7 separate regions of the Homo sapiens genome follow, and all the other regions are linked to region 4. The links are contacts of gene promoters, found by promoter capture Hi-C in blood cells and fetal thymus (Javierre and others, 2016). All regions are on one chromosome and are shown on one strand. Each heading gives the region's core, a stretch centred on a gene start or on the middle of the fragment in contact. The rest is flanking DNA. Distances are from core to core; before and after follow the strand shown.

Region 1 (3,481 bases), core at 12-2,511, 640 kb after region 4:
TCCAATGCTTCAACCAGCAAGCCTTGTTCTTTCTGTTCTGTTCTGAACCAGTTTCAATAGCAAAAGAATGTTTGTTGTTTGAGGACTGGATGCTATGAAGGAGCTTTGGAAAACAAATAGTCTCAGGGGCATGATCTTGCATACCAATGTCTCCAGAACTCATCTGGCTTTCACAGATAACTTAAGGTTGTATATATCCTAAAATAGTTGAATATATTTATCTTTTGCTATAGCACTTGCATTTTAAGAAAGTAGGATAACTAAACATTTTAAGAACCTAATTATGATTTAAAAATAAAGTTGAAAATGTAACTCTACGTTTAAAAAAAACAAGAGTAAATTTTCTTTTTTCTCTATTTTGAAAACAGCCTAAAAACAAAACAGATTGAGTTACATGGGGAGGAGAGTGGAAAGTGTGAAAGAGACACAAAATCCAGAGAATTAGGTTGTACCTAAATGAAAGAAATATTAAACTATGCAATGAAAAAAATAGAACATTTTCACATTATTTTTCCTTACGTCCCTCTCGCATGTCAAAATGAGTACTGATATGTCAGGGTTTCCTGCGAGTATGAGTAATTTATCAGGACAAGAAGGACCACTGGGGAAATGAGGACCCAGAGTTTTCTAAAGCCTATTATCATACAAAATAACCTCACAATTATATATTTGTGTTTTTCCCATTCTGAACTCTAACTTTGACAGAAACTCTCTCCTTGACCAAGACAAGTTCATTTAACTGTTTTTTTTTTCACCAGGCCTCATCCCTGTTCCCCTTCCTTCACCTGCTGAGCTCAGCTTCAGCAAAGAATCCTGATAAAATAGTTTGTCAATTATCTCCCCTACCATTGATATTTCAGGCAAGCTCTTTCCTCCACCTTGATGCCTAATTAAGTTCCTCTCCTCGTCCACCCTTTATATTAAACCAAGCTCCTATTAGTAATTTTCCATTCACTCTCTCACTCTACCCATTGGGTATAAATCCTTGCATGTCCGTATTGTATTCAGAGCTGAGTTCAATCTTTCTCCCCTATTGCAATAGTCTTAAGTTTTGATGCAATAGTCTTAAAGTCTTCTCTGCCATTTTTAACAAATGTCCAGTGCGGGTTTGTTGTTGTTGTTGTTTGTTTGTTTGTTTTTTCACAGCATCTGACACAGGATAGTATGTTGGGAATCTGGAATAATTTCACTGGGTTCAGACCCAACTATAGCATTTGCATCAGATAAGCTATTTAACCTCACCAAGTTTTAATTTTCTTATCCATAAAATGGGAATAATGATAAAGTCTACATCATACCATTGTTGACAGGAATAAATGAGAGAATCCTTGTAAAGTTCCCCTGTCTAACCCAGAGTTGGCTCTTGCTTCTTCAGAATGAAACTGGAACAGTGCGCATTAACCTTCTCTTTTAATGTCCACATAACTGTTTGACAAGCCAAACTATCTTCAGAAGATATTGGACATTATTAACCTTTCCCTTATATTACATTAAATTAGATTATTAACCTTACAAGTGCTTTTTTCCTGAGAAAAGAAGTATAGATTACCAACAGCCAGAGGACCAAACACATCAGCTGCTGATGCCATTGTTGTACCATGTGACATTGAATTGAAAGTCACCAAAATATCAAACGCCACTCCAGTAGTAACAAGCTCTCAATCTTGCTTACCAGAAATTCCTTTGAATTCTTAACAGTACAAAGTCTTACGTTTATTTTTTTAATTATATTTTTGCAGTATCCTTTCCTGCTATTTTCCCTAGCTTCCAACTTTAGACCTTCTGCATTTTAGGAGGTTTTACTCTGCTACCTCTCTTTTGACTGTGATTTGTTTTAAGTAAGGACAAAGATAGAGATAAACATAAAATTACATCTCTTGTGCTCAGTTGCTTTTCTTGTTATAGAGAATATAAGTTCCTATGCAAATTCTAGGGGAGATCTCCTTAAAAATATTTACAACTGCTTAAATATGACAAGGTAATATATGATGCATTTCTATATGGGAATGTTTTGATGCATTATGTATCCCCTATTTTCTACTAATTCATTTTTCTTTTTCACTTCATTGACTTCATTATTTTTCCTTATAAGTTTCTGGCACATATTGGACTGCTTATTATAGCAGATTTTTTCAAATATTAGGCCTAAGCTCATAAACATTTATCATTTAGAACCTGCCTAGTGAAAAATAAAACAGAGCATTAATTGGAATTTCACCAGTTTAGAAATGTATGGCAATTCTGACCTCGTATTTGTGTGTGGGGAGGAGGGGAGGGGGGGATTCCAAGTAAAAAAGATTGAAATAATTTATTTTTCTCTACATCTTCAGGGACTTGCTCTTGAAACAGGAGAAGTTAGGCTAAAATAATTTGCTTGCCTACAAGACCCAAGAATTTCTCATCTTCAGTTATTGGATCCTGACTTCTAGAATACTAAAATGTTTTTGTGCTTGTGTTATTATTCAGTATTATAAATACAAATATTTAGTTTGCTCATCTCAAATTTCTTTTTGTAGGCAATTATAATTTAGTAAGCAGTGCATACCAAGCTTGAAGATTTAAAATATTTTGCAACTGAAGCTTTGCATGAAGTACACACTCCCTTTCCCTTCCTTTTCTTAAAATCTTAAGGTACAATTTTTGAACTGTTTTTCAGTTTGGCTTCATAGTCTAGGCAGGTATTTCACAGTGTTATATGGGAACTTCAACCTTTTCCCTTATTGTTTTGTGAGTCTATTCATTTTCAGGGTACTAACTTACCTGATGAATAGTAGAATCATAGGCTAGTCAAGCCATGAAGGATACTAGAGAGCATTTCATGCAGTTCCATAATTTTTAAAATGGAGAAAACAAAGACAAAAGGTACAAGTCACACAGTTTGTTAATACTGAGTCCAAGTTACAAGATTTCCATCATTTTTGTGCCATCTCTTTATTTCTTAGATCTCTGCTCACAACCGAGACAGAACAAAATTGAAAGTAGGTGGAAATATAGGAGAAAAAATTCTACCTCACTTGCTCATTCCCCAACCATCACAATTTTCTCCTCTTAGTCATTCACATTTGAATCTCTAAAAAGTTTAAGTCTATTTTTCTTTGAGTTGTGGGAAACTAAAAACCTGAGTAAAAAAATCAGTATATCACATCAAATTCTGTGACTATTTTTTCATAAATTTAGATAAAAGCATAGTGACAATAATGCTTAATAAGTGAACCTGAGTGCATTTCTTTCACTCTTCATTTCTTTGCTTGTATAACTGCTCTTTCACACTTTATGCTGTTATTTGGTGCATTACAGAGTTAATATTTTTTATTGTTCCCTTGATCACAGCTCTATTATAAAAGAAAAATAATTGCAAACTGAGTCAATTAGTGCTACATCACTACTCTCTGTAATGCTCAAATTCTCAAAGATACTATAATAGTCACACTATTCCCTATTCTCTGACTTAGCCTAACAAACTATAAGAATATGGAAACTA
Region 2 (3,565 bases), core at 632-3,131, 700 kb after region 4:
TAGTTGGATGAACTTGAACAAACTCAAAGTTAGTTAGAAACAATCTGTAAAACTCTATTTGTAAAATAGGAAGATTGATTTCTGGGAGTGGATCCAGCTCAATCTAGAAATTTCTTGAAGCTTATTTCAAAAAATATATACCAGCAAAAAATACACACATTCTGAGACCCTTGGCAAGATTAGCAGTCAGACTCCTTCACATCCAGCATATCACCTCTAAAATTTCCTCCTGGGTTTTGCTAAAGGCCCCTCCATTACAGAGAAAATTACACTAAAGATGTAATCATTCTCCACACAGGAGCTGCTTGGTTTATTTTTATTCCATTCAATCGTTCCTTTCTTTCCCCTTCATTGCAATTCCAAAGTGAGCCCAAATTCTCTGTTGTATATCATTCTACTAAAGCATAAGGTAGTTATTAAGTGTGATATTTTCTCTTCAGACTCCTTCCTGACCTTTGATCAGTCACCATCTCCAATTTAGATTTTACCTTCCTGAGGCAGAAACCGCATCTACACCGGGATATTCAGTAACATTGTGCCTGTTCTGAAAATGTACCTTCATTTCATTGGTATTCTAGATACATTCCCACATTTTAACTCTTCATGGTGTTATGCAAATTATATTAGTTGAACTAATTTTTTAAATTTAGGTTAAAATAACACATAACACAAAATTTACCATCTTAACCATTTTAAGGTATACATTTCAGTTGTGTTAAGAATATTCACATTGTTGAACAACAGATCTCCAAAACTTTCTCATCTTGCAAAACTGAAATTTTATGCTCATTAAACAACTCCCCATTTTTCCCTCCTCCAAGCCCCTGGTAACCATCATTCTACTTTCTGTTTCTATGAATTTGACTACTTTAGATACCTCACATAAGTAGGTATTTTTGATAACATCTGAACTAAATTTTATTATGTATATAGTTGTAAAAATGACTGTTATTTTATACCTTACTTATAAGGTATAAAATGTATAGTGACAACCCTTTAATCATTTCAAAATGACTTCCTATTCTTAAGCTCTTCTCTATTCAGTGTTTCCTTTGCTGTCACCCTGCTTCTCACACTCCCCACTCTTCCATCACTTTCAATCCTGGCCTCTAAAACCCTGTTTTATTGTAAACAAGCTCTTTATAGCTTCTTGTCTTAACTAAAATTTGACTTTCTTTGGAGGATCTCCCTCTCTCTACAGTCTTCTAATGGAGGCTATTTTTTATCTCATAATTCACATGACCCAAGTTCATGATGGTGGGGTGCAGAAAGAGGTATATTAGTTAACAGTCTTTGGTTGACAATAGAGATCCAAATTCAAATCTAGCTTAAGAAAAAAAGTTTAAAAGTTATTTATGGACTTACACAACTGGAGAGAAGAAAGAGGAATATTCTCAAAGGCACAAACAAATATAAATATGCCTCTAAATTTCAGCTATCACCTACACTTGTTTCTGCTTGAATTAATTTTCTCAAGATTCTTTTGCAGTCTTCTAGGCAATGGGCAATATGGCTGCTGCTAACATCAGAATCACATCATCTTTATCCTCCTCTTGAGGAGTGCATCTACAATGCAAAAGGATTCTAGTTGAAATAGCTTGGGTTACAAAACTATTCTTCAGTCCAATCACAACCTATGGGGCATATTGTACTATTGGCCCAGCCTAGCATATGATAAATATTCCACTGACATGAGGAACTACACACCAAAATGGACTATTCCTCCAAGACCACATGAAGTTCAGATCTCCAAAGAAAGACAAAATAGATTATCTACTAGACAAGAGGTGGCATTCTCCTAGCATGCCAGTTTTGAATAATTTCCTTTCTACGCTCCTCTAATAAAAGCAAACAAATCTCTCCTCTTTGAGGCAAGTTATCCAGCTCCTATTCTCTGCCATATACTGCCATTGGTCAAGACTTAACTTGGATGGTTCTGGCACCAGTAACTCACAATATTCCAACATCATGTTGTACAACTTTCATGTCCATTTGTATGACTCATCCAACAGCTGAAAGTCCTAGACTCACAGTTTCTTAATCTCCTAAAATCTAGAGATTTTAATTTTCTATTTTCTGAATTGTATTGACCACAGAACTCTTTCACTCCAAAACTGCAGATTTTTAATACTATCCTCTCTGGCTACAAACTCTAACTTTCCACCAATATGTCCATATGGACAGCCAATAGAAATATCAAACTCAATATGTCCAAAAGTTAACTCATCTCTCCCAAAGTAATATTTTAAAAATTGCTTCACTTCTTCTACTGTATTTCTGCCTTGTTGAGTAAGATCATCATTTGTAATGCTGAGGAAAGGAACTGCAGAATTATGTTTGACCCCTCTCTCACACCACAAAATCAGAACAGGACATAGACCATGGCTTCTACCTCATTAGCAGTTCTTTGATCCCTCCCTTTTTCTTCACCCCATCCCTCATGGCATAATCTTAGTTCAGGCTCTAATCAGTTATCAATTAGAATACTGTAACAGTCTTCACTCTTATCTCCTTTGAACCTACTTTCCACAGTGTTTTTAGAATGAGTTTCCTGAAATATGCCTGGCATCGTGCTTAAAGATGTAAATTGAAAACTACATGGTCATATCCTCTCTCTTAATAGTGCAGAAAATTGAAAGCAAGTGACTTACTTTTTAAAGAATGAACTCATGCCAACATGGATTACAGGAAAGAAGACAAGCCAGTGTTTTCTGGATAAGAAAGAAATCAATTTGCCTTTCCAGGACCCCTAAGAGCTCAGAAAAGGAATTGTCAGGTATGGTGGAAGGTAAGAGTGAAACATGGACTGAAAATCATGGGGATAAGTTGGAAGGATGTGTATGCAAAACACACACCATGCCAAAACACTGGCAGTCCTGGCTTTGCTCCTCACCATGGGAAGTGTCCAACCATGGGAAGTTAGTTACTTCTCTACAGTCATTGAAGGGCTGTTTGGTAATTTAAATGAAAAAATTATATAACTATGTTGAGAGGGTAAGTGAAGGATGACAAGACTGCTCTAAAACTACAAATCACCAGCTTTTACTACAGGAAGTAAATGGATAATATCCAAACTTAAATTCAAAATTATAAACATTTCATTTGAAGATGCAGTAATAACTACCTAAGAAAGAGCTAAAGGAGTTAAAAGTACTTTAGAAAAAAGTGCATTGTAAATTCATTGTATGTTTTAATCTAATAATAAAATATTAAAATTTTAAGTACATATCCAAAGTTATTGTTGACATTTTTAAAGTCTTTCAGTGACTGCCATTGTTTTCCAGATAAACAATGGCATCTTGATCTCTTCATGATCTCATTTATGATTACATCACCAGCTTCCTCTAATCCTTCTCTTTCCCAACAAATCTGTAATTCCTCAAATTTATTACACTTCTGTGTGGGGGGCAAGTGGGGGCTTCTGTAAATTTTTCCAAGCTGCTCCATCTTCATCCAATCCTACCTCTTGAACACTGGTTACTACCAGCCCTTCAAAATTCAGCTTCACCAGGAAACCTTCCCTAGACCATTCAGTCTGCATTAAATATACCTTCATTTTGCATCC
Region 3 (3,801 bases), core at 620-3,119, 680 kb after region 4:
TTTTTATAAATTTAGTGTAGCCTAAGTATACAGTTTGTAAACTCTAGAGTAGTGTACAGTAATATCCTATGCCTTCACATTCATTCACCACTCACTCACTGACTCACCCAGAGCAACTTCCAGTCCTGCAATCTCAGTTTATGGTAAGTCCCCTATAGAGGTGTACCATTATTTTATCACTTATGCCATATTTTTACTGTCCCTTTTCTATATTTAGATATGTTTAGAGACATAAGTACCTACCATTGTGTTACAGTTGCCTATGGTACTCAGTACAGTAACATGCTACACAGATTTTTAGTCTAAGCATAATAGGCTACACCATATAGCTTAGGTATGTAGTAGGCTACACCATCTGAGTCTAAGTGCACTCTATGATGTTCACACTATGACTAAATCACCGAAGGACACGTTTCTCAGAATATATCCCTGTCAGTAAGTAACACATGACTGCATATGAATTCTTAATGTTGGTAAAAACCAAACTAACAGAAAGTACAACCAATTTAATAACCATAAGAAAGAAAAAACATATTAAAGATATTATGTTGAGATATCCTGTATAATATTGTGCCACTTGTTTTCTATCAATACTTTTAGTGAAAACAGGAGTTATATTTTTTTGAGTATAAAGTAATACACAGTAAAAATGAGTTAACAGGCTTTTTAAAAACATATTGGCTAGACATTTTTAAATTATTGAACATGTCAGTTTGAAAGATTTTTAGTGTGTTTCTGAAAATAATTATAAACGATGTGTAATGCTGTCAAATCATTTCTCATCAATGAAAAAGTAGAGAAGCAAATAGGCATAGAAGTACTAGTTAACTTGAAAACACAAAGTCAGAAGTTGAAAGTAAATTTGATAATTTTCAGAAGACAACAATGTATATTTTTCTCAGCTCTACCTAGGGACTTGAGAAATGTTCCCATTACACACAGGGAAGATAGTACAAGAATTAGCTAATCTTAGAATCATAATGTTACTGGTACAACAGATGGTTTAAATGGTATGACTCCATTATTTCATAACTGATGAAATGAGGGCTTATCTGAAATCATAGATTATTCAAAACCACAAATTGATTAATGCAGAGCCCAGATCAAACCATAATTCCTGCCTCCCAGATAAGTTTCCTTCCTGCTATGCTAGTATACCACCAACTGCCAATTTCTAGCAGCTGGGACTTCTCTGTTGCAGGGGTCCATGCCCTTCGTATAACTGTGACTAAGTAAAATCAGTCTCGTTCATTTCTGCTACCTTCCAGTTACCCCTCCCAGGTCCTTACCACCTAAACCCTTCTCTGCTATGATCCTCCTTCCTAGGATCACTCCTTCCCCACTGAAGCTCCCTTTTACCTGATCCTCTATTCGTCTAAAGTGGTAGCTCACAAATCTGATCCATTTATCAAGCTAATGTGCTCAGGAAGGAACCTAAATCAACTGTCCCATCTGTATGTGGTTCTACTGTGGCTTTCCTAGAGTAATACCCAACCTGTTATCATTTTAACTCCATGGCTAGCAAACAGCATATGGGATTATTTCGGGAAAAAAAAAACAAAAAAAAACATTTACAAGGTCCTTTTATTTTTTCATTTAGTCTGAAAATACCTGAATTCACTTTAATGGTCAATAGGTATACTCTTATAACTTAAATCCTGTTGCCTACTTTACTTAATAGAAAATATTTTCTGAAAAAGTATCATCGATTTTAACAAACATATTAATATATAGGCATATTTGAGAAGATTAATGCAGCTTTCTAACCTTTGATCCTAAAATTAGATCACTAATCATGTGTATTAGTCCATTTTCATGCTGCTGATAAAGACATACTTGAGACTGAGAAGAAAGAGAGGTTTAATTGGACTTACAGTTCCACATCTCTGGGGAGGCCTCAGAATCATGGTGAGAGGTGAAAGGCACTTCTTACATGATGGCACCAAGATTAAAAGCATGAGGAAGAAGCAAAAGCGGAAACCCCTGATAAACCCATCAGATCTCGTGAGACTTATTCACTATCACGAGAACAGCAGGGGAAGGACTGGACCCCATGATTCAATTACTGCCCCACCCCCCATCTTCTCCCTCCCACAACATGTGGGAATTCTGGGAGAAACAATTCACATGGAGATTTGGGTGGGGACATAGCCAAACTATATCATCATGTCTTGAACTCAGGCAGCACTAAAGATACAAATACTTATCATTGATACAACCCACTGAGAATTTCAGAATTAGGAAATTCAAACCATGTATATGTGGAAGGCAGTCCTGCAGCAGCTGAGTGGCAGAATTTGTTGTATGGGAGAACAGGTAGAGTCTTCCTGAAGCCCTGAGATTACACAGACTTCATATATGTACTAAGTCTGCCTTACTGAGTATTTCATATTCTATAAACATGAACAGAGACAAAATAAGGCTTTAAATAAATAGTTGTGAAGCCCTAATCATACACAGTCCTTTGAAGGCTTTAGCTTCAACACATAATGAAACTAACTAACAAGACATACTAGCTCCTTTATCTTGTTCATGTTCTCAGTAATGTTTTATTGGGCATAAGTTAGGATAAAATGTATCCAAACAGAAAAGGAAAAAAAAAAAAAAGAATAGAGCAGCAAAGTCATCCAATAATGGAGAAACAAAGAAAGGACAGAATGTCAACAGGCATCGTAAAGTTTCCTTTGGCACGTGTACAAAAAGTCATTGTTCCAGCCAGGCAACCATATGCCTATAATGTGTCAGAGTCGTTCTCTGGGCAGGAATCCAGGGCTCCAGCCTTCAACTCTCTAATGTGGATTAATAATTCATTGTGTTATCTGAAAGACTGCATAATATAACTAGTCAGCTGACCCATGAACAACAATTCCTCCCAAGTCACATACACAGTTTTCAATGTTACCATGCAAAACAAGTCTCCACTTTAATCTGCCCATTGTAACATCGATTCACTCAATGAGAATTGGGTAGAAAGATGCATCTACCAAAGGCGATTCAGCTATAGGTGCTGTGAGAGAGAAAGGCAAGAAAGAAAAGAAATGAAGGAGTTTGGAAGGTCAATATGTGCTTGATTCCTGCCATGTGCCAAGAAATATGCTGAGAACATACAATCCTCAGGACAATTCTGTGAGGCAGGTAATGGGAGTATTCCCATTGCAGAGATGAGGACATTAAGAATTTAGGGCTGGGCACAGTGGCTCATGTCTGTAATCGCAGCACTTTGGGAGGACAAGGCGGACAGATCACTTGAGGTCAGGAGTTTGAGACCAGCCTGGCCAACATGGCAAAACCCCGTCTCTACTAAAAATACAAAAAAAAAGAAAAAATTAGCCAGATGTGGTGGTGCATGCCTCCAATTCCAGCTACTCAGGGGGCTGAGGCACGAGAATTGCTTGAACCCAGGAGGCAGAGGTTGCATTGAGCCGAGATTGCACCACTGCAGTCCAGCCTAAGTGGCAGAGTGAGATTCTGTCTCAAAAATTAAAAAAAAAAAAATTTAGAAAAGCTAAGTACATTACCCACATTCATTAATCTAGTTGGAAGGACTCGAAATTCTTCAGAAAAATGATCAGCTAAAATGGTCAAAGAAACATACCTGGAAATAAAGAAAAAATAGCTCCAAGACTCCGAGATAACATATGAGCAGACATATATATTGTACAAATTGAATATACAAGCACTGAGAAAATTTAAAATGATAATATCCAAACAGTGTTAATAAAAACTAGTAAGAACACTTTATGGAGATGAAGCTTGACATTGCTCCAAAGCTTCTCAACATTTTAAATAATGTGTGGCTCT
Region 4 (3,506 bases), core at 442-2,941:
CAACACACATTCATTATCTTACAGTTATGGAGGTCAGAAGTCTCAAATGGGCTAGTAGATCCTTTTTTATGCCCATTCTAGCTTCCAGAGATTGCCCACATCACTTGGCTTGTGTTTGTTTTTACTCTGACCCTCCTGCCTCTCATTTGTAAGGGCTCTTGTGATTATAGTGTACCCACCTGGATAATCACGATACTCTCCCCATCTCAAGAGTCTTAGCTGAATTGCATTGGCAAAATCCCTTTTGCTCTGTAAGGTAACATACTCACAGGTATTAGGAATTAGGATTCGGACATTTTTTTGGGGGGGCATTATTCTATTTACCACAATTGGTATCATATGTTCCATTGTGTTTTCTCCTGCCTCTCTAGATGTGTTGCTTTAAAAAAATTCAGGCCGGGTGTGATGGCTCACGCCTGTAATGCCAGCGCTTTGGGAGGCCGAGGCGGGCGGATCACGAGGTCAGGAGCTCAAGACCAGCCTGGCCAACATAGTGAAACCCCGTCTCTGCTAAAAATACAAAAAAAATTAGCCGGGCATGGTGGCGGGTGCCTGTAGTCTCAGCTACTTGGGAGGCTGAGGCAGGAGAATCGCTTGAACCCGGGGAGGCGGAGGTTGCAGTGAGTCGAGATCGCACCACTGCACTCCAGCCTGGGCGACACAGCAAGACTCTGTTTAAAAAAAAAATTCAGAATGTGTTTATTTCTTCCTCTATCATTTTCTCTTCATTAATTTGTCTATTTTATTAGCTATGCCCTGACAGTTTTGACAGGGTTGTGGGATATAGTAGAAAGGTTGGAAAGGCATGGACAGCCGTGCTGGGAGTGCTGTTCGAGTAATTTTCTGCCTCCAGTCATTTCCCACTACTTCATCAAATACAACTACCTCACTATGCTCTGGGTGGTACGAAGTAACCCATGGTAGGATGCTTCCCAACTCAGTGTTAAAGGTAATGGTGCATCCTGAGCTTTCTCGCTCTGCATCTCAATCCTGGAACTGGTAATTCTCTATGACTGACACCTCTGAGCTCCCATTCTCTCCTATCTCTAGGGAATACCTGAGGAGGTGAGGTTTCACCTTCTTACTCCCCGCGGCCCAACCCCCGTCCGCCCCTCCCCCGCCCCGCCCCTCGCCCCCCAGAGCTGAGACCTGGGCATGCGCATCAGCCGCAACAGATTGGAGGGGACCCTGCTGCTCACTCCCCTGCTACCCTCCTCTCTTCCCTCCCCCGACCGCTCTCATATTCCCGTTCCCACCCCCACCCCCCACTCCCGCCCCGCACCCGCCCCTAGCCCGGGCTCGGGGACCTGTCAGGCTGGTTTCGACAGCTGGGGAATTAACCTGTCCCGCCCATCCCTAGCCTCGAGCCGCGCAGGCTCCGCGCCTCCGCCCTTGTTCCCTCCCAGCTCCTCCGAGTGGAAGCCGCTACAAATGGCTTGAATGAAACGTGTGTGGGTTTAGTGAGTGGTGAACCACCAGGGGATCCCGTCTCCCCACAAACCAGTATCTCTCCGAGGAGGAGGCGAAGGAGTGGGAGGAGGCAACGAGCCGAGAGTCGAGCTTCGCGGGCGCGCGCAGCGGCTGGAGCGCGGGGGCGAGGCCGGGCCACCTCCCCTTCCCGGCCGCGCACTGCCTGGCCCGCGGCGGTTCCAGGCACCACCCTTCCCGTCCGGGCTGAGCCCGCTGTGGCAGTGACTAGCTCCCGCGGCTAGCGGCACTGTCCACCGACGAGCGGCGCCCTCTTCTCCCCCTTCTCCCCACGATTTCCTTCTCTGCGGCGGCACGCCGTCCAGCAGCCTGCTTCGCCCCGTCGTCAACTTTGAGCTGGAGGAGAAGCAACTTTGGCAGTGGCCGCGGGGTTGGAATCCCGCTTCTCCTCGGCAGCAGTAGGCTCGCAAGTCGCTGGGGTTAGGTGGGGCAAGAGTTTCGCCGGCGCATCAGCGCTGCTTCGGACTGTTTGCAACGTGTTTCCAGCGAGCTGGGAGCGGGGTTGTGACTGCGAGTCGTCTGGGGGAGGGGGACTTGTTTTTCTTTTCCTCTAGAGACCTCGGCTTGCAACTGGATCAAACGCTGTCGAAAGGATGTAAATAGGCAGAGCAACTGTTACCAAGAAGGCCACCACCCCCACCCAAAGGCAGTGAGGAGTGTGGGGCTTCGTCTGGGCTCCCCCGAGTCTCAACAGTAATCAACAGTCAGGTGTTGATTGCAACTTTTCAAGGTCAGCCACCGGGAGTAGCCTATTCCCTCTAGGAACCTTGGAGGGCATACCTTGCTGGGACTCAACTTGGCTGAGAAATGCACAAGATGCCAAAGGAGGAAGGATTATAGGGGGCGTGTGTGTGACCCCCAAGACCGATCTTCCGCTATCACCCTAATCTCCGGTTCCCCGCTACCCGGGCGGGGGTGAGTATGTGACATGTGCCTAACTCTCAGCAGCAACTTCGGCAGCAGGTGTCGATCCTAACTAAGCAGGAGCTGCGGCTGCCGGGTGTGCCCTCACCAAGCCATGCGAGCCCCGGGCGCGCTTCTCGCCCGCATGTCGCGGCTACTGCTTCTGCTACTGCTCAAGGTGTCTGCCTCTTCTGCCCTCGGGGTCGCCCCTGCGTCCAGAAACGAAACTTGTCTGGGGGAGAGCTGTGCACCTACAGTGATCCAGCGCCGCGGCAGGGACGCCTGGGGACCGGGAAATTCTGCAAGAGACGTTCTGCGAGCCCGAGCACCCAGGGAGGAGCAGGGGGCAGCGTTTCTTGCGGGACCCTCCTGGGACCTGCCGGCGGCCCCGGGCCGTGACCCGGCTGCAGGCAGAGGGGCGGAGGCGTCGGCAGCCGGACCCCCGGGACCTCCAACCAGGCCACCTGGCCCCTGGAGGTGGAAAGGTGCTCGGGGTCAGGAGCCTTCTGAAACTTTGGGGAGAGGGAACCCCACGGCCCTCCAGCTCTTCCTTCAGATCTCAGAGGAGGAAGAGAAGGGTCCCAGAGGCGCTGGCATTTCCGGGCGTAGCCAGGAGCAGAGTGTGAAGACAGTCCCCGGAGCCAGCGATCTTTTTTACTGGCCAAGGAGAGCCGGGAAACTCCAGGGTTCCCACCACAAGCCCCTGTCCAAGACGGCCAATGGACTGGCGGGGCACGAAGGGTGGACAATTGCACTCCCGGGCCGGGCGCTGGCCCAGAATGGATCCTTGGGTGAAGGAATCCATGAGCCTGGGGGTCCCCGCCGGGGAAACAGCACGAACCGGCGTGTGAGACTGAAGAACCCCTTCTACCCGCTGACCCAGGAGTCCTATGGAGCCTACGCGGTCATGTGTCTGTCCGTGGTGATCTTCGGGACCGGCATCATTGGCAACCTGGCGGTGATGTGCATCGTGTGCCACAACTACTACATGCGGAGCATCTCCAACTCCCTCTTGGCCAACCTGGCCTTCTGGGACTTTCTCATCATCTTCTTCTGCCTTCCGCTGGTCATCTTCCACGAGCTGACCAAGAAGTGGCTGCTGGAGGACTTCTCCT
Region 5 (3,845 bases), core at 747-3,246, 650 kb after region 4:
CACTTTTTTCACTGTTTCTTTTGCTGTGCTGAAGCTTTTTAACCTGATGTGATCCCATTTGTCCATTTTTGCTTTGGTGGTCTGTTCTTTTGTGGTCTTATTCAAGAATTTTTTGCCCAGATCAATGTGAGCATTTCCCCAGTGTTTTTTTTCTAGTAGATTTTAGATTTAAGTCTTTAATTCATTTTTTTATTTTTATTAATTGTGAGAGATAGGGGTCCAGTTTCATTCTTCTTCATATGAATATCCAGTTTTTCCACCATCATTTATTGAAGAGACTGTTCTTTCCCCAGTGTATGCTCTTGGTACCTTTGTCAAAAATGAGTTCACTGTAAATATGTGGTTTTTTTCTGGGTTGTCTTGTTCTCTTGGTCTGTGTGTGTCTGTTTTTAATGCCAGTACCATGCTGGTTTGGTTACTATAGCTTTGTAATATAATTTAAAGTCAGGTAATGTGATCTCTCAAGCTGGGTTCTTTTTGCTCAGGATTACTTTGGCTATTCTGGGTCTTTTGTGGTTACATAAAAATTTTAGAATTACTTTTCCTATTTCTTAAAAAATGCCATTTTCATAGGGAATGCATTGAATCTGTAGATTGGGGATTACAGACATTTTAACAATATTAATTATTTTAATCTGTGAACATGGAATTTCTTTCCATTTTTGGGTGTCCTCTTCAATTCCTTTTATTAATGTTTTATAGTTTTCATTATAGAGAGTTTTCACTTCTTTTGTTAAATTTATTCCTAGGTATTTTATTTTATTTCTAGTAAATGGGATTATTTTCTTGGTTTCTCTTCAACTTCACTGAATTTATCATTTCTAATAGTGGGTTTTTTTTTGGAGTCTTTAGGTTTTTCTAACGATAATGTCATATTATCTACAAACAAGGATAATTCCACTTTCACCACTTTTATTCAGCATAGTACTAGAAGTCCTAGCCAGAGCAATCAGACAAAAGAAGAAAATTAAGGGGATGCAAATTGTACAGGAACCGATACATTATTTAACCAGTTTTCACTGTACATAACTACAGCTTACCCCATAGTGAAGCTCTTGAGAAAGAATAGAAAACACATACATCAGAATTTTCCCAGTCAAGGGAAGATAGACATAAGGTATGTTTAATCTCATAGTTGTCAAATTATTGGGTAACAGGAGCCTGTGGATAGATATTAATTCCTAAACACTTCTGGCTCACGGTGGATTTGGATAAAGTGGGTTTTGGAAGCATAAGGGCAACTCTCTAACAAAGATGCATGTGGTGGTTGTCAGAAGTCAGGTGTACAGCTGGGAGGCACAGAAATGGTAAGAAAATCCAAGAGGCTATGTGGACAGACTACTGACTGCATCTGTTGTTACAGGATTGCTTGTTTAAGAGCGTGATTGTAATAAAACCTGATATAGATAAGCACATGTATAATTTTATTAAATTTTACCAAATTATTTCTTAAAGTATTTATGCTAATTTCACTAATAGTAAGAATGTTAATTACAGCATGTAACCATATGCATTATTTCACATCCTCATCCTTTTTTGTGGTAAGAACACTTAAAATTTACTCTTTGCAATTTTCAAGAATATAATACATTGTTCTTAACTATAGTCAACATGTTGTACAATAGACCTCAACGTATTTTTTCTAACTAAAATTTTGTATCATTTGACAAACATCTCCCCACCGTCCCCACCCCATACCCCATCCTCTGGTAACCACCATTCTATTCTCTGTTTCTATGAGCTTAACTTTTTTGGATTTCATATATGAGATCACATATTTTTGTGTCTGTTTTTGCCCCTTTTCTCTATTAAATCATTTATTCCTTTGTTATTTGAGTTGTAGAAGTTCTTTATATATTCTAAGTTCAATACTTTATTGATATTTGTATTACAAATATCTTTTCTACTCTATTGCTTGTCTTTTCTCATTTTTCATGGTGACTTTTGAGGACTGAATTTCAAATTTTTTAAGTAATTGTGTTTATCAATCTTTTTACTAACAATTTGTGTTTCTGGTGTTTTGTTTAAAATGCTTGCTTTTTTCTATCAACATTTCTGTCCTGTTCCTGAAGAAACAAAGACATAGGTACTCTTGAACACAATTATCCTCCTTCTATCTGACGTGCTTTCATTGTCCAGTATTGTAGTTCTATCTGAAACTCCTCAAAATGGACACTGTCTCAGTCAATATTTGTTTTTATTTACCCACATGTACACTGAGTTTATAATTCTATAATTACACTCTAACTAATGTGATGAATTAATTAATAAAGAACATTTATTTAGTCTCCCACTATACTATTGATCACTCTGCCTCTGGACAGAAACTCTCCAGAGGTCCCTTGATTTTCCTGTTCATTCTGACAAAACGCAAAACTCCCATCAACTATTTAAAAATGTTCAGTTCCATATGATCGCCACCTTGATTAAACATTAAGCCTTTTCCTTTTTTTCCACAGCTGGAGTCTGTAGAAAACTGTAGTCAGGAAGGCAGTATAGAACATTTCTTCTTTCTTCTTCCTCCTTTTCTTTTCCCTTTTCCTCTCTCTTCTTAAATTTTTGAAACCTGAGTGTTTAGGTAAAGAGAGGGAGAAGAAAGGGGGTAGGAAGTTCTTAATTGACTAGTACTTGGTACTGTCTTCTCACTCTCTGTGCCTGGCAAGGATTTAAAATTTATTCTCTCCTGGATGCTTTCATGGTTCGTTAGAGACTCTCCTATGTTGTTGATGAAAAGAGCTTTAACAATCCCCTCAGCTTGTCTTAATTTTAGACAGGTTTGTTTCTGACCTCCTTTTCCCTAGAAAATTTACTTTAGGAAACTTACCATTGTAAATTTTTTCTCTGTATCTTTAAGATGTAAATCTTCTCCCAGAAAGGTAATAATTAAAGGAAAAAAATTAGCACTCCTATCCCCCAGACTCTGTGGGAGGTGGTAGGAGCTTAACTTCAATAAGCACCGACTGACAAACATAAATGACCTAATCACATGACCAACTTCCTCCTATGTCCTCCAGTGCTTTCTCACTACACTCCAGTGCTTAAAAGTCTCCTGTCTTTTTTTTTTAGCAGACTTTTTCTCTATTGCAATAGTTTTGACCCCTTTTTCAATAGTCTTAAATAAAATCATCTTGCCATTTTTGAAAAGCATCAGTGCTATTTTTCTTTTACACTATGAATATCTCAACTGTAGTTTCTGGTACCAGAATGTATGAGTTTTTAATCTGGTTCATATCTTATGGCTCCTTCATCAGCCCTTAGGTGTCTCAGGGATATGGATTTGGTGATCTAGAGACAACATTAAACGGGATAAAGATTCCCTAGAGCAGTTCATCGGTTCTGAAATGAAGGTCATGGTACAACCCTCCTAAAGCACAAAGGCAGGGTTAAGATCCTGAAGATAGGCTTGGGCTGACATTGTATTATGACAGCAATGACACTTTTTACCTCAAAAAATCCAGCTGGGAGAATTTTAAACTTGGAATTTTGAGCCTTATACCTCCTGCCTTGCAATTCCTTAGTTTTTAAAGAGCTTCTGGCTTTATAAGAGCTGATAAAGCAGTACTGAGTACATCCCTTTAAATTGGTTGTACAATCTAAGGCTGTTCTAGTTAAAGAGGTCCACAATACTAATAAAGATCTATTTTTTTCCAGTTTAATATTTATGCTGTAGAAAATCCCATTTAGGTGGTCCTATAATGCACTTGTCAGAATATTCTTCCCCTCATTGTGGCTTAGGTAGACCAATTTGGATTGCAGGGAGCTAGTTTGACACTGCATATATGCAATCTAAAGAAATCCTGAAATAGCTAATGAAATGAATCCCAGCCAGAGTCCTTCATGGGGAA
Region 6 (3,807 bases), core at 385-2,884, 840 kb after region 4:
CTGGTCTCTCTAAAATCTCCTATCTAAGAGCTTCCTCTGCACAATAAAACTTGGTCTCCATAATCCTTTATCTTTAACCTGAACATTCCTTTCTATCGATCCCAGGTCTTCAGACAACCTCAACCAATTGTCAGCCAGAAAATCTTTAAACTTATCTATAAGCTAGAAGCCCCCACTCTGAGTTGTCCCGCCTTTCTAAACCAAACCAATGTATTTCTTAAACGTATTTGACTAATGTCTCATGCCTTCCTAAAACACATAAAACCAAACTGTACCCCGACCACCTTGGACACATGTTCTCAGGACCTCCTAAGGGCTGTGTCACGGGGCCATAATCACTCATATTTGGCTCAGAATAATTCTCTTCAAATATTTTACAGAGTTTGACTCTTTTCATCAACAGGTATGTCCTATACTATATTTCTGGTAAACCAAAAAGTATCAGAGACAGGTCTCAATCAATTTAGAAGTTTATTTTGCCAAAGTTAAGGATAAGCCCAGAACAAATAAACATGGAGTCACAGAAACAGTCTGTGGTCCGTGCCTTTTTCTAAAAATGAATTTGAGGGCCTCGGTATTTAAAGGGGAAAAGCAGGCCGGCGGGGAAAGAAGGAGGGTATGATAATCCACATGTTGCAAGGGAAAAGAAGTAGGTAGGGGAATAGTCAATTATGTATTCATCCAGTGCTCAGTAAATCTGCACTTTACATAAGATAAGGTGAACACAGAGTAACTACCTGTGGAGTTAACATTTTATCTCTAGCTATCTGCTTAGGAACAAGAGAAAAGGCAGTTTCTTGCACAACTCACATTTCAGCTTAATTTTTTTTTCCTTTTGGCATGATGAATTGGGGTTCTGAGTTTTTATTTTCCTTTCACATTCTCAAGTCAATTAGACCCTATGGCATCAGGCATGTCCCCATTCCTGTATGAAGTAGTCACAGCTGGTGCCTTAATTGGCAAATTCAGTATTCTTACATTAGGTTCCCTCCTTTACCTCCACGTTCCCCATTCTCCCATTCTGTGTCCATTCTCTTATGACTTAATAAGACACAGCACCTCGCAACACAGTAGCAGACCACCTATACACAGGTCTTATTAACCAATCCCTCCATTGTAATGCCTTTTTTTTTTTTTTTGTGACAGAGTCTCACTCTGTCACCCAGGATGGAGTGTAGTGGCATGATCTCGGCTCACTAAAACCGCCATCTGCCAGGTTCATGCAACACCATGATAGTGGTAAAGAAATTAACGACTGAGGTTATTCCTCATTTTGGCATTTCTTTATAGATTGAATCAGACCAAGGAACTCATTTTTTAGTAGAAATAAACCACTCACTCACAAAATCTCTGGATTACTCATTAAAACTTCTTACTTCATACCATCCTCAATCATCAGGTCAAGTGGAACATAAAAATCTAGACATAAAAAGAACTTATAGGAAAAAATCCATCAAGCCAACTCTTTCAACCAGGAGATCAGGTATACATCAAGATTTTTAGAAAAAGCTTGTACTGTTACCTTGCTAGGAAGGACCTTATGAGGTGCTGCTAACCACCTACACTGCTATCATACTTTCTGAATTTATGTGAGCCACATCAAGGTGGAGCCAGTCATCACTCTCAGGACAACTGGAAGACCATCCCTACAGGTGACCTCATAGTAAGGATTTCAGAGCCAAGGCTCTAGAAGCAAGATGACACCACAAAGCAAACAGCTTTCCTCAAGATCACAGATAAAAAACTTTGCTTTCATCTATTTTCCCCCTTTAAGTTTCTTTCCTCCCTGGTGTGGGGAGGGGAGTAGAGGGGGGATCTTTTTCAACAAAACCTCCCATTTATTGAGAAGCTGACTGGAGATTACTTGTCTCAATCTATCCTATTCTCTCTCTGATCCTCCACTGTGGGCTTTCTTTCAAATGCTGCCTCTTTCATATTAACCTCACTCTTTTCTTCATAGGTTAAACACAAACCTGACACCACCCTTGCACCAGTTTCCCAAACCTTGGTCATGTCAGCTAAACAATATAATTATTGCTTATGTCAACATCTGATAGCATGAACAAACCTGAATTAGTTTTTATTCCTGTCCATGGGGTACCAGGTGGACCAACTATGGAAGATAAATGAATGAAAGAGTATGGTATCCATGGTCAGAAAAACAATGTCACTCTACTTTTCCTTCTGGTGAGTTCACTGGGCAAGGAAAAACCTCTATGTAAGCTCAAGAATTGTCCCTTGCTCAAATAAAGACATTGGAAGAAAAAGACTTTTCCAATTAAAAACAAATATGGTACTGATCTCTTCCCAAGTAACAATCCAAGACAATATTGCAATCAAACCCTGTAGTTTGACTCCATACACCACATCCTCAAACCCATCATGGAGGTCATAATGAGGCAGGAGAATAGGGTTGGGAGACAGGGAGCCTGAGGACAAATTGGCTGACTTCTTGGAATTGGACCAAAAGGAAAACCCCACCTCTCCATGCCCAGGTGAAAAGGGACCAGAGTTCCTGACCTCTACAAAACCCTCCTCCCCTACCTCACGAACGAGAAATGCCTCTGACTGGTTGTGGCCCAAGCCTCCACTTCAGCCTCTGATTGGTTGCAGGCCAACCTCCACTTCAGCTTCTGATTGGTCACAGGCCAAGCCTCCACTTCAGCCTCTGATTGGTCTCAAACCAAGCCTCCACTTCAGTGTCTGATTGGTCACAGGTCAATCCTTCATTTGCGTAGGGTGTAACCAATTGGAGGTCTCTAAAGGGTACCTAGGGGTGTTAACCAAATTCTTTTAGTTTAATTTAAAACCCTGAAGAACATTGCAGTCAGGCTCTTGAGCCACTTGCTCAAGCTTGCTCCTACTCTGTGGAGGCTACTTTCACTTCAATAAATCTGTGCTTTTGTTGCTTCGTTCTTTTGTTGCTTTGTTTGTGCGTTTTGTTCAATTCTTTGTTCAACACTCCAAGAACCTGGAAAACTCACAGTCAGGACTTTCTATCCGGTGACAATAAGTGATTCTAGAACTACCTTTTATAGCACAAACTTTTGCCAAATCACCAAATGTGTTGGCTGGTTCATAGGCCACTCTTGCACAACCTGGGTGGGATAGCTCGGCTGCTCTCCTGATTAGGCTCCTTAGCACCAGAAATTGTATATAAATAGATCAAAAATCTGGATTAACTTGGTCAGGTGACAAAATCAAGCCTTTTAGCTGCCAAAGCCAGATTGCAGTTCTCCTATGTCAAATGTTTCACAACATTTTCTGCTTCTACAAACTGACAGAGGCACGTGAAAATGAAGGTGTGGAGACATCAATATGACCAATAACAAAAGTTGTGGAACACACTAGATCTTGGGAATTACAGGTTCCACTTTTTGTTCATGAACAACACTGGTCATTCTATCTTGTGTGGTTGATGAAAATGCTGCCTCTTTGTGAATCAGTTGGGACAAACGTTATCTGATTTATACCTTTGAACAAAAAAGATTAATATTCTCCATAAGATAATGAGGCTCAACCATTTGATTAGACTGACCTATTCCCAGAGTTGGGAGATTGGTTTAATGGGATATGGAGAAATGTGCTTAGATTTGCACTTTTCTGCTTATTTATTCTCATTCTGATCTACATATTCTTCTTTTGAAGATCTATCACTCAGCTGCTAAACTGATTCTTCTCTCCACAGCCACTAATTCAGATTTTATTATGAGAAACTTATGGTAAAGTTTCAGATGGGGGAAATGAAGGAATTCAAAATATGCTACCCCAAAATATGCTACTTTGGCATGTTGATTATTTTTATTA
Region 7 (3,402 bases), core at 421-2,920, 950 kb after region 4:
TATATGCCTAATAAACTGACACCCTTGGGAACAAAAAACACCTTTTTAAAATGTCATATCACAATAAATTTTTTAGAGCCAAAGGGCCTAAAAATACAAAATATTGTACTTTAGTAAAATACTGTTACAAATTTCCTCTTCTAGGAGATTTTCATTATGTTTTCCATGTATATAAATGATACACAATCATCTATTTTTCTAGCTAGCCTATGGAAAAATTATTTTGGCATTATTTTGGTCCCTAGTCTACATTTTATAACAGACTTCTACTACAGTAACAAAAATATGCATTATAATGGTATGCATTTTTAAATATAATGAATTCTTTCTACATGCTGCTGAGATTTTATTTTTTCTAGCTATTTTTATTATTCAAAATATAAAACTAGATCTACATTTTTCCACTTATAAAATATATATACTAATACATGCATACATATATACACACATACACTTGAATTTTTGTTCAACAAATCTGATATGTTTCAGGCAAGTAGCCAGGTCTAGTGAAGCAGTGGGGAAAGCAACATAATTCCACACATTGTAAAAAGGTATAGATACCAGCCAGACGCAGTGGCTCACACCTGTATTCCCAGCACTTTGGGAGGCCGAGGCAGGCAGATCACGAGGTCAGGAGTTTGAGACCAGCCTGGCCAACATGGTGAAACCCCATCTCTACTAAAAATACAAAAATTAGCCACGTGTGGTGGTGTGCACCTGTAATCACAGCTACTCAGGAGGCTGAGGCAGGAGAATCACTTGAACCTGGTAGATGGAGGTTGCAGTGAGCTGAGATTGTGCCACCGCACTCCAGCCTGGGTGACAGAGTGAGACTCCCTCTCCGACAACAACAACAACAACAACAAAAAAGGTATAAATACTTAGATGTAAAATATAAAACTATAAAACTCCTAGAAAATAATATAGGAGAAAATTTAGATTACCTTAGACAAGCAGATGACTTTTTAGATACAATACTAAAGGCACAATCCATGAAAGAAATAGTTGACAAACTGGATTTCATTAAAAACATCTCATCTGTGAAAGACACTGTTAAGAAAATGAGAAGACAAGCCACAGACTAAGAGAAAATATTTGCAAAAGACATATCTAACAAAGAAGTGTTATCTAAAATATACAAAATCTCTTAAATTTCAACAACAAGAAAATGAACAACAGATTTAAAAATGAGCAAAAGGCTTGAACAGACATCTCATCAAAGAAGATATACAGATATGAAAAGATGCTCAACATTATATGTCCTTAGAGAATTGCAAATTAAAACAGCAATGAGACACCACTACATGCCTATTAATGAATGGCCCAAATCCAGAACAATTCCAACTCCAAATGTTGGTGAGGATGTGTAGCAACAGGAAACTCTCATACATTGCCAATTGGAATGCAAAATGCTACAGCTATTTTGCAAGACAGTTTGGCAATTTCTCACAAAATTACATATACTCTTACCATACAATCCAATCATTATGCTCCTTGGCATTTACCCAACCAACTTGGAAACTTACACCCACACAAAAATCTGCACAAGAATGTTTATAGAAGCTTTATTCATAATTGCCAAAATCTGTAAGCAACCAAAATGTCCTTCAGTAGGTGAGTAGATAAATGAACTGTGGTACATCCAGATAATGGAATATTATTCAGTGCTAAGAAGAAATGAGCCATCAAGCACTGAAATGATGTGGAGTAAACTTAATATTACTAAGAGAATTAAGTAAGCATCTTACTAAGTGAAATAAACTATCTGTAAAGCTTACAAATTGTACAATTCCAACTATACATGACATTCTGGAAAAGAAAAAATATGGAGACAATAAAAAAATTTAGTGGTTGCCAAGGGTTGGGGAGAGGGACAGATGAATAGGTGGAACACAGTGGATTTGGAGAGCAGTGGAACTATTCTGTGTAATACTTTAATGGTGGATACATGCCGTTATACATTTGTCAAAAGCCATAGAATGCACAACACGAAGAGTGAACCCTAATGTAAACTATAGGCATTGGATAATAAGAACATGTCCATGTAGGTTCATCAGTTATAATAAATGTACCACTCTGGTGGGACATGTCAATAGCAGGGAAGGTTGTGATGTCAGGGAGAAGGGAGTATACAACAAGTCTCTCTACTTTCTGCTCAATTTTGCTAGGAACCTAAAAGTGCTCTGAAAAGTAAAGTCTACTTGAATGAAGAAAGTTATAGATGCAATTGCATTCACTGCTACTATGTTTGTAATAGAAAATCCTAGAAACAACATCTATGTGACCAACAAGGAGTTTCTTAAATATATTGTGAACTATATTATGGTAATTACACCAAATATTATAGTATGAAGTAACACGGGTTTTTTTTTTCCAGTTTCTTGTTGTCTTTCAACTTTTTCATTCATTTTGCCATGAAACCCCTCACAAGAAGAAAGTCAGCTTTAAAGAGCCAATTTCAGATTGACACCTGTCAAGTAAACATTTGCTGCTTCTCTTGCAGCCACTGATACCCACACTTCAACCATGCAGGAACCAGAAGCAACCTAGTATTTGGGGAAAAGCACTTGGCAAGGGATAGAGAAGAAGTGAAACACTCCTTGTCTTTTCTCCTGGCAGATTTTCTTCCATCAGATTTAATCCAGAAGAACGAAAAAAGAGTTAACTTTTACTAAACTTTGAATTTAATTTTATAAACCTAATTAGTGACTGAAGTGCTAAAATCTGGTTGTTGAGACTAAGGATCTGTAGGTGACTATAACTTTGAGGGGTTTAGTCTGCTCTTCAGTTTGATCTGATGGCATATGCTTCAATCAACTGGGGCTGTTCAATAAATTGTTAATGGAAGGGACACTTGCTCCCTCCCTGTCCAGTGGGATGTGACAGGTGAGAGAGAACACAACTAGCAGGTAAGAGAGATGCAGAAGAAAAGGTCCTAGAGATGGATGGTGGTGATGGCTACAATGATATGAATGTACTTAATGCAAGAAAGAATGTTGCAAATGCTGGGGGCAGTGGCTCACACAAGTAATACCAGCACTTTAGGAGGCTGAAGGGGGCAGAACACTGGAGGCCAGGAATTCTGAACCAGTCTGGGCAACAAGGCGAAACCCTGTCTCTACAAAAAAGAATACAAAAATTAGCCAGGCATGATGGTGCATGCCTATAGTCCCAGCTACTCGGGAGGCTGAGGTAGGAGGATCACTTGAGCCTGGGAGGTGGAGGTTGCAGTGAGCCGAGATCACGCCACAGCACTCCAGCCTGGGCAACGGAGTCAGACTCTGTCTCAAAAAAAAAAAAAAAAAAAAGAAGAAGAAAAAAAAGAAAGAAAGAATACTGCTGCAAGGGAAGCAGTGCACGCAGTGCACTTGGAGGACAGCCAGTTTTCTATTACAGCAAGAA

Evidence for each region. The method cuts DNA at HindIII sites, captures the fragments that hold promoters and counts their contacts. A CHiCAGO score of 5 or more calls a contact.
Region 1: a fragment that was not itself captured here is called in contact with the fragment with the promoter of GPR37 in region 4 in 2 of 17 cell types (endothelial precursors and M2 macrophages); the score reaches 6.2 in endothelial precursors.
Region 2: a contact is called between a fragment that was not itself captured here and the fragment with the promoter of GPR37 in region 4, in 1 of 17 cell types (endothelial precursors). The highest score is 6.0, in endothelial precursors.
Region 3: a fragment that was not itself captured here is called in contact with the fragment with the promoter of GPR37 in region 4 in 2 of 17 cell types (endothelial precursors and M2 macrophages); the score reaches 6.4 in endothelial precursors.
Region 5: a contact is called between a fragment that was not itself captured here and the fragment with the promoter of GPR37 in region 4, in 1 of 17 cell types (endothelial precursors). The highest score is 5.7, in endothelial precursors.
Region 6: a contact is called between the fragment with the promoter of SPAM1 here and the fragment with the promoter of GPR37 in region 4, in 1 of 17 cell types (erythroblasts). The highest score is 6.6, in erythroblasts.
Region 7: a fragment that was not itself captured here is called in contact with the fragment with the promoter of GPR37 in region 4 in 1 of 17 cell types (M1 macrophages); the score reaches 5.7 in M1 macrophages.

The regions. Positions count from the first base shown.
Region 1 is chr7:124,128,138-124,131,618 of GRCh38, reverse strand. No RefSeq gene overlaps it. Among named protein-coding and RNA genes, the nearest start is that of TMEM229A, 97 kb to the right of the region's middle. The HindIII fragment of the contact is 2,581 bases long and covers 1-2,551 here.
Region 2 is chr7:124,066,765-124,070,329 of GRCh38, reverse strand. No RefSeq gene overlaps it. Among named protein-coding and RNA genes, the nearest start is that of TMEM229A, 35 kb to the right of the region's middle. The HindIII fragment of the contact is 3,517 bases long and covers 123-3,565 here.
Region 3 is chr7:124,084,339-124,088,139 of GRCh38, reverse strand. All of the region lies in intron 1 of LOC124901741 (a long non-coding RNA gene), which reads right to left. Among named protein-coding and RNA genes, the nearest start is that of TMEM229A, 53 kb to the right of the region's middle. The HindIII fragment of the contact is 3,771 bases long and covers 1-3,754 here.
Region 4 is chr7:124,763,977-124,767,482 of GRCh38, reverse strand. It overlaps GPR37 (G protein-coupled receptor 37), which reads left to right and starts at 1,691. Exons shown (of 2, transcript NM_005302.5): 1 at 1,691-3,506. The coding sequence starts at 2,507. RefSeq lists a silencer at 1,550-1,679. The HindIII fragment of the contact is 5,609 bases long and covers 1-3,506 here.
Region 5 is chr7:124,112,355-124,116,199 of GRCh38, reverse strand. No RefSeq gene overlaps it. Among named protein-coding and RNA genes, the nearest start is that of TMEM229A, 81 kb to the right of the region's middle. The HindIII fragment of the contact is 3,920 bases long and covers 37-3,845 here.
Region 6 is chr7:123,923,068-123,926,874 of GRCh38, reverse strand. It overlaps SPAM1 (sperm adhesion molecule 1), which reads right to left and starts at 1,634. Exons shown (of 5, transcript NM_153189.3): 1 at 1,523-1,634. The HindIII fragment of the contact is 1,344 bases long and covers 1,512-2,855 here.
Region 7 is chr7:123,809,300-123,812,701 of GRCh38, reverse strand. It overlaps a transcript of HYAL4 not described here. Among named protein-coding and RNA genes, the nearest start is that of HYAL4, 34 kb to the left of the region's middle. The HindIII fragment of the contact is 210 bases long and covers 1,566-1,775 here.